Linked DNA regions of Homo sapiens: region 1 is linked to region 2. Evidence: promoter capture Hi-C in 16 types of primary human blood cells and fetal thymus (Javierre and others, 2016). All regions are on one chromosome and are shown on one strand. The core of a region is centred on a gene start or on the middle of the fragment in contact, and the rest is flanking DNA. Distances in the headings are between cores, read along the strand shown.

Region 1 (3,929 bases), core at 406-2,905, 210 kb before region 2:
GAACCCGAAGGCCACTGTTCTGCTTCTGCCACCAACCTGCAGTGAAATCACACCTGGGTAACTTTCATTCATTCAATAAATATTTTTAAAAATTCTTTCTTTGTGCCAAACACTGTTCTAGTTACTTTCTGGCCTCAGGTGTTTCATCCCTAAGTTGGGAGGAAGAAAATAATCCTTCCAGGTTGTTATGAGAAGATTCAGGGCCAGGCGCAGTAATCCCAGCACTTTGGGAGGCTGAGACGGGTGGATCACATGAGGTCAGGAGTTCAAGACCAGCCTGGCCAAGATGCTGACACCCCTACTCTACTAAAAATACAAAAAGTAGCCGGGCGTGGTGGCACGCGTGTGTGGTCCCAGATGCTCGGGAGGCTGAGGCAGGAGAATTGCTTGAACCCGAGAGGTGGAGGTTGTGGTGAGCCGAGATCACACCACTGTACTACTCCAGCCTGGGTGACAGAGCAAGACTCTGTTAAAAAAAAAAGAAAAAAAAAGGAAGAAGATTCAAAGGATGCTTGATAAACTCATTGTAACCAAAAAATTGTGAGTAACATTTCCTAGATTCAATTTCCTGAGCACTATCTCCTTCGATATCTCTTCTGAAATGAAAAGAAAGACGGCCTGAGTGCCCTTATTTAATTTATTTATTTTTTGAGATGGAGTATTGTTCTGTTGCCCAGGCTGGAGTGCAATGGCGTGATCTCAGCTTACTACAACCTCTGCCTCCCGAGTTCAAGTGATTTCCGGCTAATTTTTGTATTTTTGGTAGAGATGCGGTTTCACCATGATGGCCAGGCTGGTTTCGAACTCCTGACCTCAAGTGATCCTGCCACCTTGGGCTCCCAAAGTACTGGGATTACAGGCGTCAGCCATTGCTCCTAGCCCTTGTATTATTCTTTCAATGGGCATAAGGTGTTGGCATCTCCAGGGGGTCCTCTTCCCTGGTCACCATGGTTGAGTTCCAGATTTAGCAAGTAAAAATACAGAAAGCCCAGGTAAATTTGAATTTCAGATAAACAATGAAGGTTTTTTTTTTTAAGCTTAAGTATATCTCATGCAATACTTGGGATATACTTATGCTAAAAAAAATTGTTATTTATCCAAAATTCAAATTCAACTTGGTGCCCTGTGTTTTTATCTGGCAATTCTGCAAGGTGAGGATGAGTGTCTCTCCTGCCCAGAGCAATTGGGGCTGCACCCTCTAGGGCCAACCTTGGGCCAGAGCCATCCTGGCATGCCCCTTCTCCAGAGCCAATCATGATTGGTGGAGGAAGAGGGAAAGCACCCACCCCAGGCTGCTGTTAGTGGTTTTTGTTTTTTATAGAGATGGGGTATCATTATGTTGCCCAGACTGGTCTAGAACTCCATGCCTCAAGCAATCCTTCTGCCTCCTTGCTGGGATTACAGGCATGTACGACCACGTCCAGCCTGTCCTGTCAGTGTTTCATTGTTCTTGTTTTTGAGACAGGGTCTTGCTCTGTCACCCACGCTGGAGTACAGTGGTTCAATCACAGCTCACTGCAGCCTCGACCTCCAGGACTCAGGTGATCCTCCTGCCACAGACATGCACCTCCACACCTGGCTATTTTTTTTTAACTATTTGTAGAGACGGGGGATAGGGGGTGGTGGGGACAAGTCGGGGGTCTCCCTATGTTGCCCAGGCTGGTCTCGAACTCCCTAACTCAAACAATCCTTTCATCTTGGCCTCCCAAAGTGTTGAGATTACAGATGTGAGCCACCACGTCTGGCCTGCCAGTGGTTTTTTAATATTTATCTTTATTAATTTTATCCTGAATGCACACACACAGGTGTTTGGGATCAGAGACAGATTTTATATTAATTACCTTTTAGCAAATAATAAGTACATAGCCTCCGCTCCCAGCCTCCCCTTAAGCCTTACTCCTGGCCAGGAAATGTCCCGTGCAAGTAGCCTGACACTCCATAGATGAAGGACAAGTTTTCTCTGCTTATAAAGGCGAAGGAGGTAGCTATTCCCCTCCCTTTTTGAAAGGGTCTCCTTGGAAACTTAATGGGCCCGAAACCTAACCCCAGCCCTTTGATATGTAAATAAAGCCTCACCCGGAACGAGATAGCCCCAGGTGTCTCAGCTTTAACCACCTGGAGGGGTCTTCAAGTTCTGGGACTTTCTCCCTTTGACATATAAATACCTAGGGAGATAGCGCCGGAGTCTTCCCGGCATTTTGGAGCTAGCCAAGAGACCTAGGCTCGGCTGTGGCCATTTGGCCGTCTCCCGGAGGGAGGTGAGAGAAGCTTTAGGATCCTTTCTAATCAAGGCAGTTAACTAGACAAATGGCTCCAGAGCGCATTATCAAGAGTCTCGGGAGACTGGGTCCCCACCTTTCACATTTCCAAATTTCTTCCTTTTCTTTCCTTCCTTCCTTCCTTTCTTTTTTCTTTTCTTTTTTTTTTTTTTTTTTTTTTTGACAGAGTCTCGCTCTGTCGCCCAGGCTTGAGTGCAGTGGTGCAATCTTGGCTCACCGCAACCTCCGCCTCCCAGACTAAAGCAATTCTCCTGCCTCCGCCTCCAGAGTGTCTAGAAATACAGGTGCGCGCCACTACCGCCCGGCTAATCTTTGTATTTTTAGTGGAGACAGTGTTTCACCATGCTGGCTAGGCTGGTCTTGAACTCCTGACCTCAAATGATCCACCGCACCCAGCCGCATTTCCAAATTTCTGAAATCAAGTGTTCCTTAATGAAAAGTGGGTAGAGGAGAGGGTCACGTGAAGTGTTTCCAGGCAGGTTCAAAAGAATAATTCAGATACCATGGAAAACTTCCACATATAAGTCAAATGTAAGTAATAAGTTTTAAAATCAGGGCCAGGTGCGCTGGCTCACACCTGTAACCACAGCACTTTGAGAGGCTGAGGCAGCAGGATCACTTGAGCCCAGGAGTTCAATACCAGTCTAGGTAACATGGCGAAAACCCGACTCCACCAAATATATATATATAATAAAAATTAGCCAGGGGTGGTGGCACATGCCTATAGTCCCAGCTAGTCAGAAGGCTGAGGTGTGAGGATTGCTTGAGCCCAGGAAGTCGAGGCTGCAGTGAACTGTGATGGTACCACTGCATTCCAGTTTGGGGGACAGAGAGAGACCCTATCTCAAAAAAAAAATTAGATTGGCCTCAATTCAGTGAAGGATAATATGATAATATATTGGATGACTTTTGGCAAATTAGTCATGAACAGCACCCACAAAACAAAACAAACAAACAACAACAACAACAAAAAACAAGCTGCCAGGAGGAAGTATGAGCCACAAAATTTGCACCAGAGATAATACTTTGCATTCCACCTGAATCTAAATTTACTTGAAAGGATAGAACTGAGAGTGTTTGTAGGTCTTTTATTTCTAATTACTCCGCAAGAGCATTGCACAATGACCATGGAAAATCACTTTTTGGGCCAGGCTTGGTGGCTCACACCTGTAATCCCAGCACTTTGGGAGGCTGAGGCGGGTGGATCACATGAGGTCAGGAGCTCGAGACCAGCCTGGCCAACATGGTGAAACCCCGTCTCTACTAAAAATACGAAACTTAGCCGGGAATGGTGGCATGCGCCTGTAGTCCCAGCTACTTTGGAAGCTAAGGCAGCAGAATCACTTGAACCCAGGAGGTGGAGATTGTAGTGAGCCAAGATCACGCCACTGCACTCCAGCCTAAGAGACAGAGTAAGACTCTGTCTCAAAAAAAAAAAAAAAAAAAAAAGAAGAAGAAGAAGATTAAGAAAAAAGAAAAAGCACTATTTGAAGATGAGAAAAGGGGATTAGAACCTTGGTATGATTCAGATTTGAATTATTCATTGCAGTCTGGGATGATTCTTCCAGATATGAGTAATGCCTGTAAACACAGAAACAAAGAAAAATGCTTGTTGAATCATAGAATTTCTCAGATTTGCTTAAAGGGAAG
Region 2 (4,230 bases), core at 570-3,069:
AGGAGGGCAGAGTGGGCATTTGCCCCCACCCCGCATGGCTCCTTCAGCCCCTGCTGGCTCACCGTGAGCAAACCACCGCCATTTCCCTCCTGTAGCCACAGTCTGGCTGTAGAAGCCCAGGGGGCCACTCCCTCCTGGCCCCTTTAGACCTCACGGTGCTGAAGGCTGCCCCAGGTGCCAGCCTGCCCAGTGACCACCCTCCTTGCTCCCCGTGCCCTGCCCGCACCTTTGTCACGTGTCCCTTCATGCCAGGCCCTCCATTGCATCCACCCCTTGCTCAGCCCTAACAGCTGGGTCTCACATGCGAGCCCCCACCACACTGTGTCACTCCTGCAGACTGTGAGCCTTTTGAGGGCAGGGGCCAAGTGGTACCAGCAGGAGCAGAGGGCACCATCGATGCTTCCTGAATGAATGAATGAATGAATGAATGCGCAAATGGAGAATGGAGACTAACACATCACTGTCCACACAGGAAGTGTGCAGACCTTCCTGTGTGTAGACCTCTCAGAGCTCCTTGCTCAATCAAATGGCTGCTGCTCTGCCCCAACCAGAGCACCCACATCACCATGGGGGAAACAGCATCACCTGGAGGAGGCTTGAAGGCCCAACCAGCGATGACAGCTGGGACCTGAGGACGCCCATGAGCCCTGGTCACAGCTGCCATCGGTGGCTCCGTTCATTCATCTATCAAGGGCTGCCTGGTGGCCTGCTCTGTACCAGGGCCTCCCGGGGCCACTAGGAGGACAGTGCTGTCATCTCCCACCCTTTTTTGAGCCAGGGACTGATTCACTCCACTGAATCTTCCAATGTTTGAAAAGAAGAGGGTTATTTGAAGACCAAATAAGTTGATCTATGTGGCCAAAGTCACGCGACCACACGCTGGACACACAGGGAGATGGACATGCAGGCCCCTCACCGAGTCAGGAGCAAAAAGAGAGTGGCCTGCAAGGCCCTGAGACAGGAGCACTGAGGAGGGAGCACTAACGGGGGAGCACCTCCCTCTGTCCGAGAGGGTTGCTAAGACGCCACAGAGGCCAAGAAGGGTAAATGGAGCTGGCTAAGTGGGCAAGGGGTAGGGGGACAGCTTTCCTGGGAGAGAGGCCAGCAAAGGCAAGGCCCGGGCACTTCCATGGCCTCTGGAGACGCACCATGTGTTTGTGTGTGAGACGGGAGAGTGACGGGGAGGAGTGTGGATCCTGGCTCAGGCCACTGAGGACCAAGAGGTTGTGGCTGAGACTGGGAGAGGGAGCCGGTGTGGGGTGACATGTGCGGGAGGAGAGGTCCAGAAGAACGAGGTGACAGACCTTCCTGGCCTCAGCTTCCAGAGTGTCTGAATCCCGTCCCCAGGATCTCACAAGCCAGCTGGAGAATTGCCTGCCCGGGGCCAACCCCTGTCTCAGAGCCAGGCCTGTCAGGGAGACACAGCCCAGGTTGGGGAGTCAGGGAGCACCCTCCGACCTCCCCTATCTCCAGGGCACTGTGGAGCAACAAAGGGAACCTGAGACCAGTCCTGAGCAAGGTTTAGTGGAAGGACAGGACTGACCCAAAGGGACAGGGCTAGAGAAGGTGCTGAGGCGGCCACGGGGGGTATCGGAGGACACATCCCAGACACCCCAACTCCTCACCTTCTCCAGTCCCTGCGTCTGTCCCTGGATCCCTCCCTCGGCAGGGCAGGGTCGGCCCAGCGTGGCAGGAGGGGATGAGGTGCCAGCCACTCACCTGAGGTCGGGAGCAGGAGGAGCAGGAGCAGGGCCCCCAGGCCCCTGGGCGTCGCCATCCTTGGCCAGCCTTGCCCACGCCAGGAGCTCTGTGGCTGTCTGGCCCTCTGGCCCCAGGCTCTGCTGAGCTGGCCTGCCCCCACCCTGCAGCCCCACCACTCTGGCTTCCTGTGTCCTCTTTCTCACCCTTCCTGCTCGATGGCGCCATTGGTTGGGTTGTGAAAGGTGAGTGTGGGGAACTGGGCAGTGCTCCCAGTCTCACCGCACCCTGGGTCCACCTGCAGAGGGAGCTGCTGAGCCCACCCAGGTATGTGCCCCCGGGGCCCCACTGGGGTGGGATCTACGGGGCTAGGGGCTGGGTGGCCACAGGGGCCTGGCTCAGAGCGGATCCCTGGGAACTGTGGTGAGCACAGGCTTTGGAGTCAGGCGCACCTACTCAGACCCCTCCTCTCACAAGCTGGGAGCCTCTCTGAGCCTCAGTTTCCTCCTCTGTAAAGTGAAGATGGCAATGGGGCTGCCTCCTAAGGCTGTGTCAGGGTTTGATGAGACCTGCAACAAGCTGGGCACAGAGCCTGGCTCTGGGCATGAGGACGAAGACCCAGATGGTGCCTATGGCTTGAACCAGGCTGGAGGGTGTGGGAGGAGAGCAGGAGCTGGCCCTGCAGCCTGAGCTTCCCCCACCAGCCTGGATAACAGGACGGACCCAGAGGCAGGGTAGCGGGAAGACAGCAGTGCGGCCCCGGGGGCTGGTCAGGCCTGAGCTAACATCCATCCTGGCCACTTCCTGGCCGGGTGACCTTGCATGCACTGTCTGTCACCCTGAGCCTCCCGAGGTGTGTGATGAAATCATGGATGACGCAGGCGGAGCCGCCTGTGGCCATTACATCATTTCTGATCATCAGAGCTGTGAAATTGTTGTCTTTACACCCCAAATGGTCACTGATCAGGTGGGAGGTGGGGGTGGCAAACACTCCTGGGCTTCAGCCTAAAGGAATTAGGGCGCCAGCCACTCGGGCCAACTCTGGAGGCCCCACGGATGCACTGTGCATGAGGCCATGGCCACTTGGCAATTGGAAGGTGAAGGGCATCCCACCAAGGTGTGTGGTTGCTGGCATCCCCCTCTGGCCCACGGGGCTGGCACTAGCCCTACTCAGCCTTGGGATTGAACTGGGGAGCCGCTCAGCCCCTGCTGGCCTCCATTTCCTCCTCCTCCCACTCAGTGTCTCCTGCTGAGCCCTCTGGGTCTGGGAAGGGGTAGGGAGGGGATGTCAGGGTCACTCATGGTGTGGGAGCAGGTGGGAATTCAGCATGGAGCAGCAGGTCAGAGCCCAGGGCTTCCTGAGCCCCAGAAACTTCCTCTGCAGGGAGGGCTGCGAAGGCAGATGAATGGCTGGGCCTGCCACTGCTCCACACCTGGCCAGCCTTCTCCTGGAAGATCTGCAGACCTCCCTCCCAGCTGCAGGTGAGGGTGAGGTGGGGCAGTGGACTTGGATGTGCTGGGCCCATCGCTGAAGCCCCATCCTGGCACCTGGGCCCTCAGAGAGGCTCGCAGGTACCAGTGTGTGAAGAAGCGCCTGGGGGTGAGCAGACTGAGATTCCGAGCAGCCAGCCCACCTGGGAAGTGGGCAGAGGGCAGGTGCAGGGGAAGGTCAGGCAGGGCTGGAAGGAGGGCCACCTTTTCCTAAGGCCCCTTCCCTGAAACGCCCCCTGGGGACCAGGGACTAGCCTGGAGCCACTCACAGAACCCTGAGACCCCCCCCAACCCCAGGGCCAACAAAACAGTAGTGTCCCTTCCTGCCGCCTCCTGCCCCAGCTTCTCCCAATGGCTCCAGTGGGCAGGGCCTCAAGTCCTCCAGCGAGACCCAGCCAGCATTCAGCCCTCAGCTGCTCCAATCCATTTCCCAAGCTAAAGGGATGTTTCCAGATGCACGCCTGGCCACATGCTGGCAGAAAGGGCGATCCCACTGTCCAAAGCCCCACAGCCTGGGAAAGTGCATGATAATAACCATCGGGGTAAAAGGATCAGCATGGAACTGTTGGTGCCCTGTGCAGGGCCTACCTGAGAAGGTGAGACCCAACCCAAGACCCCTCCCCACTACCTGAGCCAGCCTCAGATGCAGAAACAAAATGTTTGAGAAGCAGGAGAATTGCGGAGGAACGGGGCTGGGTCATTTCCCCCCCATTCTGGAAGATGGGGGGAGTTGCCTCAACCCCCATCCCAGGACCTAGCCCAGCCATGGGGCTCTGAGAGACCCCCCTCACGGAGACCTAGAAGCCTGTAAGGAGGGAAGCTGGCTTTGATCCCCCGGGGCTGCCCAATCCGGACACTGGGGTAGGGGAGGCTTGGGAAGGTTTGGCCTCTGTCCTTTGGAGCTGGGGGCATAAGAGGAGCCCCCCACCTGCAGAAAGGTGGGGACAGAGGTCAGTGGAGGGAGTGGAGGGGGTGGAGGGAGGGCTGGGAGAGCAGCAGGGCACAGGGGTTCTTGGTCCCTGCAGGTCCCAAGATCCCACA

The links. Contacts are between HindIII fragments. The CHiCAGO score rates a contact against its expected background, and 5 or more counts as called.
Region 1: a contact is called between a fragment that was not itself captured here and the fragment with the promoter of ADGRG3 in region 2, in 1 of 17 cell types (megakaryocytes). The highest score is 5.1, in megakaryocytes.

What each region holds. Positions count from the first base shown.
Region 1 is chr16:57,871,582-57,875,510 of GRCh38, reverse strand. No RefSeq gene overlaps it. Among named protein-coding and RNA genes, the nearest start is that of KIFC3, 71 kb to the right of the region's middle. RefSeq lists an enhancer at 1,850-2,377. The HindIII fragment of the contact is 1,231 bases long and covers 1,040-2,270 here.
Region 2 is chr16:57,665,895-57,670,124 of GRCh38, reverse strand. ADGRG3 (adhesion G protein-coupled receptor G3) reads right to left here and starts at 1,819. Exons shown (of 12, transcript NM_170776.5): 1 at 1,720-1,819. The coding sequence starts at 1,777. The HindIII fragment of the contact is 25,338 bases long and covers 1-4,230 here.